3 separate regions of the Homo sapiens genome follow, and regions 1 and 3 are each linked to region 2. Evidence: promoter capture Hi-C in human tissues and cell types (Jung and others, 2019). All regions are on one chromosome and are shown on one strand. Each heading gives the region's core, a stretch centred on a gene start or on the middle of the fragment in contact. The rest is flanking DNA. Distances are from core to core; before and after follow the strand shown. Region 1 holds the start of GOLGA7 (golgin A7). Region 2 holds the start of AP3M2 (adaptor related protein complex 3 subunit mu 2). Region 3 has its middle 19 kb from the start of CHRNA6.

Region 1 (2,700 bases), core at 149-2,648, 660 kb before region 2:
GTCTACACACCTATGCAAAGACTTGCAAATGAATGTCCATAGCAGCTTTATTTGTAACATCCCAAAACTGGAAGCAATCCAAATGTCCATCAACAGATGAATGGATAAACAAACTGTGGGATGGCCATACAATGGAATAGCTATCCAGCATCAAAAATAAATGAATTATTGATAACACAACAACAGATGGACTTCAAAATAGTCTATGTGAAAGAAGCCAGGCAAAAAAAGGGGGTACACACTATATGATTCAATTTATATAAAATTCAAGGAAATGAAACTAATGTTGAGTGACAGAAGGTGGATCAGTGCCTGGGAAATGGGGTCTGGGAGAGGCAGGAGGGAGAGATTACACAGGAGCTGGAGGAACCTTTTCAGGGCAATGGAGCTTTACTATCTTGATTGTGACAGTGGTTTATGGGTGTATTCATATGTCCAAAGTTATCAAATCCACTGCTTTAAATGTGTGGTTTATTGTATGCCATTTATATCTCGAAAAAGCTGTTTTTAAAATACAGTAAGAGAATTTTTCATATTTAAAAGGCAGGATATTTAAACTATATTAAATATATAAAAGACAGTGGTACTAACAGGTTGTATTAGCAGGAGACAAGGGTAAGGTGGGGTTTCTTTGGCTGCCTTGCAAAGAAATGCTGAGTCAAGTAAGGGCCAGTGGGCAACGAGGGCGGAACCACTTGTCCCCTTGGTCACCTGAGGGATGTGGATGGGAGCTGGGTGGAAATGGGGGGTGAGAGGAACGCCGCCCCCAAAGAAGAGTCGGGGCAGGGGCGCCCAACGCTGGGGCCCAGGCAGGTTCTTCGTCCTCACTTCCTGACCCTTTCTCAAGAGTCTAGGGACCAAATGGATCCATCCTTGGAGCCTGCTTTCTACTTCTGAACACAATGAGCAGTTTGTGTTTGAGGGTTTGGGGAGGGGGTGTTGTTTTTTCTTTATGTTTTGTTTTTTGTTTTGTGTATGAGTTGGGTGGCATAACCCACACGTAAGCTGCGACGTCCAATCAAGAACGAAAATGACCCCTCACAATCAGTGATCGGGAACCACCTGCCACAATCACTAGGGAAGTGACACAGCCGGGAAACTCCGCCCCTCACACCCCCGCGCGCTCGCGCCGGCCGCAGCCCCACAGCTCGCCCCGGCCGCAGCCCCACAGCTCGCCCCGCCTCTCTCCTTCCGGAAACAATCCCCGCGCGGGCGGAAGGCGGGGTCGGCCCTGGCCCCGCCCACATCATTTCCCTTCCTCGGCCCAGCCCCACAGCGCGCAGCTTCGGCAGGGTGGCTTTACGGCCGGAGGAGAGGGTGGGTCCCAGACCTGAGGTAGGAGGCCGAGCTGAGGGGCGGGGAAGAGGCTTTTTGCGGCAGGACGTAAGTGACGGCGAAGGCGGTGCGACAGCAGCTGGAGGGCAGAGGAGGCGGGTTTGTGTTTCCCGGGCCGAACCGGGTTGTGGGGGGCGCGGGGCCTGGGCCAGGCGGCAGCTAAGGCCCGCGGTGACAGCATGGGTGAAGGGGAGCGGGGCAGAGGAGGCCTTGGGCTGTTTTCGGCGGCGGGTGGGGGCGAGGGGCTGGCGGGTCAGAGTCCCGGGTCCAGGCCGGGGCTCTGACTCGCGGTTGGTGTTCCCCCGACCCCGCAGCGCGGGGTGTCCTGTCCTCGCCATGAGGCCGCAGCAGGCGCCGGTGTCCGGAAAGGTGTTCATTCAGCGAGACTACAGCAGTGGCACACGCTGCCAGTTCCAGACCAAGTTCCCTGCGGAGCTGGAGAACCGGGTACGCAACCTGGCTCCCCACGCCTGCTCTGGCGAGGGAGAGAGACTCACCGGGGACGGGAAGGGTGTGGGCGACAACCGGGCCTTTGAGGGTCCCGCAGTTCTGGGGAGGTCCAGGCACAGAAGGGGCCTTGGCCAAACGTGTAAGAAGAGAGCCACTAAGCAAGACAGGTGTTTGGAGCAGGAAGAATAATATAGGCCGATCGCCGGGGTTGACGACCTTATGGAACTTTGTTGCCCGGTGCCGGGAATCTGGATCCAGCAGTGTTCCCCTGCTGCACTCCCCCAAATCCCCACCCCGGGTTATTGTCGGCAGCGATGAGGAGCCAATTCCTGAGGCTCCAGGTCGTCTCAGTCACCAGGTTGTAAACTATATCCTCCTACCTCTCCGCGCAAGATAAATCATCATCATTCTCGTGACTGGTGTTTGCTGCCTCTGTGCTGGCCGCACTGTTTGGCTGAAAGGGTTTATTAGGTGCATGGCCAGGCGGTGCGTTCAGGCTTTCTTGGAACCTTAAAGACGTCGGGCGTTAGATAGGCCTGGACAGGAAAATGTCTCAGAACAAGGCCTTAAACTTGTCACATTCACTGGGAGCCACCTGTTTTGTCTTGCATATCAAAATGGTCATCAGGATATAGGTCCTTTGGGCAACATTGCAGGCAAAAATGGAAGAATGGGATTTGCTTCCCCTTCAGACCTAGCAAAACTTTAAAAAAAAAAAAAAAATCATTGTATCTTGTTGTAGAGGTAATGGAGTGTGTGCGTGCCTGCCTGTGTTTTTGTGTGCCCACATATGTACATTCAACCAAAGATTCTTTTGGTCTTGACCCATGTTATGTAGATTGTGTTTCCCGTTCAGGGATCAATTTCTGGTTAGCTGGAAGCAGGTTTTGTGGCTCTCTCCTCTGTGACAGGGAG
Region 2 (2,700 bases), core at 89-2,588:
CAAATGTTAATTCAGTGAATGAATGAGAAATTCTCACGGCAGCGACTGCATTTCTGCACCTTCGACACACATTATCACGTGTTATTGTATCTTGTGCTGTTCCTTAGGGCATAACAATTGCTAGCATTTTCTAACTCAATCCTCACAACTCTAGGAGGGAGGTACTATTCACGTTCTTATTTGAGAAGTGAGGAACTTGAAGTTTAGAGGAGTTACAGTTCTTTCTCACGGTCACTCAGGTTGTAAGTGTTGGAGCGGGTTCAAGCCAAGTCCTCTGGCACCAGCGTCCCTAAGCCCACCCAGAGTCATACCATTCTGCCATTTTGTTTCTGGCTTTTCTTCATAGTTCAAAGTCAGCCAACTACCTGCCCTTAGCAAGCGTGGAGAGAACCCCCCGCACCACCTCAGCAAAGGGCTTGTGTGTGGAGGAGCTGCCACCCACGCTCCATTTCACCAAAGTGACAACTAATGCTAGGGAGGGCGAACCTCTCATCGGCGAGGTCGCCACTGTCACCAGCGCCCACTGCTGGGTCCAAGGCTGGCGACGCCTCACCGCATCTGGGCTTGACTTCCTGCGTCACTGGGGCGACCCCTGGTCCTGACTTCCACTCCACGCCTTCGTGGATCAGGACGACTGGGACCACTCAAAAGCGTATCCAAGTCCTGAGGTCTCCAAAGCGGTGGAGAGACCCGCCCAGCCCCTCACTCCCCGGCTGGGAACTGAGATTGTGGAGGGTGGGCGCCCTGCCGCGGCCCAGTGGGGCTGGGGGCTTCCAGAGTCGGGGTCCAGGGCTCGGTGTCCGAGACTCCACCGCCAGCCGCGCCGACCTGACCCACGGCCGGGTACAACAGAGAAGGCGGCGCTTCCCAAAGGCACCGATGGAGTGCAGGGTAGCCGCCGCCCTCAGGATTTATCAACCGCGAGGCGCTGTCAGCAACTCGTGCCCGGAAGCCACCCCGCCCCGGCACACACATACTCCAGCGCCCCCTCCAGGCGCACTCCGCAAACACGCGAGCGCGGCGACCGCCCCAGCCCTTTGTGACTGGATGAGTGGGGCCGAGCAGCACGCACTGTCTTCGACCTCCAATCAGGACTCGGGGTCTCGGAGCTGTACCAATCGGAGATGACCGTGGCCTCAACAGGGCCAATCGGGGGACTCGAGCCCGACAACAGGGCAAGCCGCCAACAGCGATCAATCAGAGGGGAGGAGCGGCTCCCAGATACCCAATCAGCGGCCTTCAGGCGCAGATCGTGGGCGGAGCGGTAGCCAGGCCGCGGGCCGGCCAATCAGCGGGCGAGCGGCTGCCTCAGCGCGCGCGGCGGGCGGGGCGGGGCCTGTCCGCGCCTAGGAGCAGTGGGCGCTGAGAGCAGCAAGGCCAGGTGAGGAGTAGGGACGACCCCGAGCCTGGAGAGGGGGCAGGAGTGGGGGCGCGCGAGGGTCGGGGCGGGGTCTCAGGATGCAGCCGGGCGGCCTCTCAGGGCTGCGGACGCGGCGGGGAGAGGTGAGGGGCCGGGTTCAGAGTTCGGGGAGGGCGTCCTTCCCGGCGCCGCGGCTGCGGGCGGAGGGGACACTGTTGCCATGGCAGCGCACGTGCGCTCGCTGGCGCGGCCCGGCACCCCTGCGCTCTTCACCCCGGAACGCGCGTGCCCCTTCAGCCAGGCCCCTGCCCGCCTGCGCCCCGCGGCCTCCGTCGCCGCCGGCTCTGGGCCGGGGCCTGCGCAGGGACCGCCTGCCTAGGCCGCTGCCTCTCCCTCGCACCCCGGGCTGCCTGGCTGTCTCTCCCTCCTGCTGTCTCCTCCAGGCGGCGCTGGGCACCGCAGGCCTCTGCGTTTTGACCACCCGCGCCGGTTCGCGGAATGGCCACATCCTGGCGACTGGCACCAGAGAGATGCAACCGTCTGAGGGCCTTGGGGTGTCTGTCCCCCAGGGAAATTTTTTTTTTTTTTTGGAGGTGGAGGGGGCGGGGTTCTCCCTCTGTTGCCCGGGCTGATCTCGAACTCGTGAGCTCCAGCGGTCTGCCCGCGGAGGCCTCCCTAAGTACTGGGATCACAGGCGGGAGCCCCAAGGGATCTTTTTAAATGTCTTACTGCATTAACAAGTGCCTAAGGAGTGCTCAGAGAATAGCTCTGATTGGATGAATAAAGACCCCCAAGGGCAGCTTTCCATTCCTCCCACCAATTCTGGTGGGCAGAAATAGAAAGCAAACCACATATGTAATTGTACATGTTCTGGTAACCACTTTAAAATAATAAAACAGGTTAAATTAATTTTAATATATTTGATTTAACCCAGGATATCCAAAATGTTATTACAACATATAATCAATATTAAATTATTGGTAAGATATTTGAAATTTTTTTTTTCATGCAAAGCCTTTCAGATTTGTCGTGTGTCTTACACTTAACAGCACACCTCAGTCCGCACCAGCCACCTTTCAAGTGCTCGCTGGTCCCATAGTGGCTATCGTATTAAGCTGCGCATTTCTTGTGTATGTGTGAGCTGTTGCCAAAACATGACATCAAATTCAGTGTTCTTGGAAGCCCTCTTCAAAGAACACTGATTGTGTTGCAGTCAGGCAACGCAAAACATGAGGCACGGCCCTTTTCTTCAAGGAGTTTGCGGTTCGGTTGAGAAAATAGACACCCACAGATAAGTAGTATTTTAAATGGATGCAATTTGGGCGATAGTAAAGATAACT
Region 3 (2,700 bases), core at 117-2,616, 600 kb after region 2:
TCACTGCTACCTTGATCTCCTGGCCTCAAGTAATCCTCCCACTTCAGCCTCACAAGTAGCTGGGACTGCAGGTGCCAGCACACCCAGCTAATTTTTGTATTTTTTGTAGAGACAGGGTTTCACCATATTGCCCATGCTGGTCTCAAACTCCTGGACTCAAGCCATCCCTCCGCTTCAGCCTCCCATAGTGCTGGGATTACAGGCATCAGACACTGCACCTGGCTGCAATGCAATTCTTCTTTCTTTTTTTTTTTTTTTTTTGAGACGGAGTCTCGCTCTGTCGCCCAGGCTGGAGTGCAGTGGCGTGATCTTGGCTCACTGCAAGCTCCACCTCCCAGGTTCACGCCGTTCTCCTGCCTCAGCTTCCCTAGTAGCTGGGACTACAGGCGTCCGCCACCACACCTGGCTAATTTTTTGTATTTTTAGTAAAGACAGGGTTTCATCGTGTTAGCCAGGATGGTCTCAATCTCCTGACCTCGTGATCCGCCCACCTTGGCCTCCCAAAGTGCTGGGATTACAGGCGTGAGCCACTGCACCCGGCCAATGCAATTCTTAAAAGTCTCGTTTTTATATCTGATGGGCGATTAATATACAGAACATATCAAGAACTCCTACAACTCAACAATTCAAAAAACAAATAACCTGATTTTCTTTTTCTTTAGATGGAGTCTCACTCTGTCGCCAGGCTGGAGTGCAGTGGCACAATCTCCGCTCACTGCAACCTCCACCTCCCGGGTTCAAGTGATTCTCCTGCCTCAACCTCCCAAGTAGCTGGGACTACGGGTGCACACCACCACGCCCAGCTAATTTTTGTATTTTTAGTAGAGACGGGGTTTCACCATGTTGGCCAGGATGGTCTCGATCTCTTGACGTCGTGATCTGCCTGCCTCGGCCTCCCAAAGTGCTGGGATTACAGGCGTGTGCCACCACGCTAGGCCACAAATAACCTGATTTTTAAAATGGGTGAAGGACTTAAATAGACATTTCTCCAAAGAAGATATACAAATGGCCGGTAAGCACATGAAAAGATGCTCAACATTGCTAATCATTAGGGAAACACAAACCAAAACCACCACAAGACACCACCTCTCACCCATTAGGATGGCAACTGCCAAAAACCCCAGAAAATAACAAGTGTTGGTGAGCATGCCGAGAAATCAAAACCTTTGTGCGCTGCTGGTGGGAATACGTAAAATGGTACAGCACTGTGGAAAACAGTATAATGATTCCTCAGAAAATTAAAAATAGAATAACCATGGGTACAAAAAAATAGAAAGAATGAATAAGATCTAGTATTTGCTAACACAACAGGGTGACTAGTAAAAAATAATTGTACATTTAAAAATAACTAAAAATATAATTAGATTGTAACACAAAGGACAAATACTTGAGGTAACAGACACCCCATTTATAATAATCACCAATGTGATTATTACACACTGCATGCCTATATCAAAATATCTCACATAACCCATCAATATATACAAGTCCTATGTACCCACAAAAATTAAATATTAAAAAATAGAATAACTGTCTGATCCAGCAATTTCACTTCTAAGTATATACCCAAAATAACTGAAAGCAGGGACTCAGAATTATTTGTAAGCCCAAGTTCATGGCAGCAGGCAAAAGGTAGAAGCAACCCAAGTGTCCATTGACAGGTGAATGGATACATAAAGGGCAGTAAATACAGACAACGGAATATTATTCAGCCTTGAAAATGAAAGAAATGTTGACACATGCTACGATACAGATGCACCTTGAAGCTGTTACATTATGTGAAATAAGCCAGTCACAAAAGGACAAACACAATATGATCCCCCTTATATGAGGTACCCAGAGTGGTCAAATTCATAGAGACAGAAAGTAGAATGGGGGGTTGCCTGTGAGGTAGGGGAGAAGGAGCAGTAACTGCTTACTGGGTACAGGGTTTCAGTGTTGCAGGACAAAGAGTTCTGGAGATGGATGGTGCTGAAGGTTGTACAACAACATGAAGGCATTATGGGCTGGGCACGGTGGCTCACGCCTGTAACCCCAGCACTTTGGGAGGCCGAGGCGGGCAGATCACGAGGTCAGGAGATCGAGACCATTCTGGCCAACATGGTGAAACCCTGTCTCTACTAAAATACAAAAAATTAGCCTGGCATGGTGGTGTGTGCTTGTAGTCCCAGCTACTTGGGAGGCTGAGGCAGGGGAATAGCTTCAATCCAGAGGCAGAGGTTGCAGTGAGTGGAGATTGTGCCACTGCACTCCAGCCTGGCGACAGAGCAAGACTCCGTCTCAAAAAAAAAAAAAGGAGGGATTTAATGTCATTGAACTGGATGCTTAAAAATGGTTAAGATGGGAAATTTTACGTTATGTGATTTTACCACAGTTAAACAAATTTTAAATGAAATTAAACATTGATTGGGCTTAATAATAAAAAATAAAGTATTGCGTAACAACCAACCCTCTATAAAGACAGGAAGATAAAAGGTAGGTACTACAATCACCAATATTATAGGGAATAAAAATGCTCTAAAATAGAGTCATTCAGGCTGGGTGCGGTGGCTCATGCCTGTAATCCCAGCACTTTGGGAGGTTGAGGCAGGTGGATCACTTGAGGTCAGGAGTTCGTGACCAGCCTGGCCAACATGGCAAAACCCCGTCTCTACTAAAAGTACAAAAATTAGCCAGGCATGGTGGCGGGCCCCTGTAATC

The links. The method cuts DNA at HindIII sites, captures the fragments that hold promoters and counts their contacts. A contact is called where the count stands out against the background at its distance.
Region 1: a contact is called between the fragment with the promoter of GOLGA7 here and the fragment with the promoter of AP3M2 in region 2, in 1 of the 25 tissues and cell types used here (hippocampus).
Region 3: a contact is called between a fragment that was not itself captured here and the fragment with the promoter of AP3M2 in region 2, in 1 of the 25 tissues and cell types used here (aorta).

What each region holds. Positions count from the first base shown.
Region 1 is chr8:41,489,184-41,491,883 of GRCh38, forward strand. It overlaps GOLGA7 (golgin A7), which reads left to right and starts at 1,399. Exons shown (of 5, transcript NM_001002296.2): 1 at 1,399-1,782. The coding sequence starts at 1,672. RefSeq lists a silencer at 1,030-1,289 and enhancers at 1,340-1,469, 1,760-1,869, 1,920-2,029. The HindIII fragment of the contact is 13,455 bases long and covers 1-2,700 here.
Region 2 is chr8:42,151,725-42,154,424 of GRCh38, forward strand. AP3M2 (adaptor related protein complex 3 subunit mu 2) reads left to right here and starts at 1,339. Exons shown (of 9, transcript NM_006803.4): 1 at 1,339-1,381. RefSeq lists an enhancer at 295-414 and a silencer at 1,245-1,854. The HindIII fragment of the contact is 9,480 bases long and covers 1-2,700 here.
Region 3 is chr8:42,747,966-42,750,665 of GRCh38, forward strand. No RefSeq gene overlaps it. Among named protein-coding and RNA genes, the nearest start is that of CHRNA6, 19 kb to the right of the region's middle. The HindIII fragment of the contact is 4,793 bases long and covers 1-2,700 here.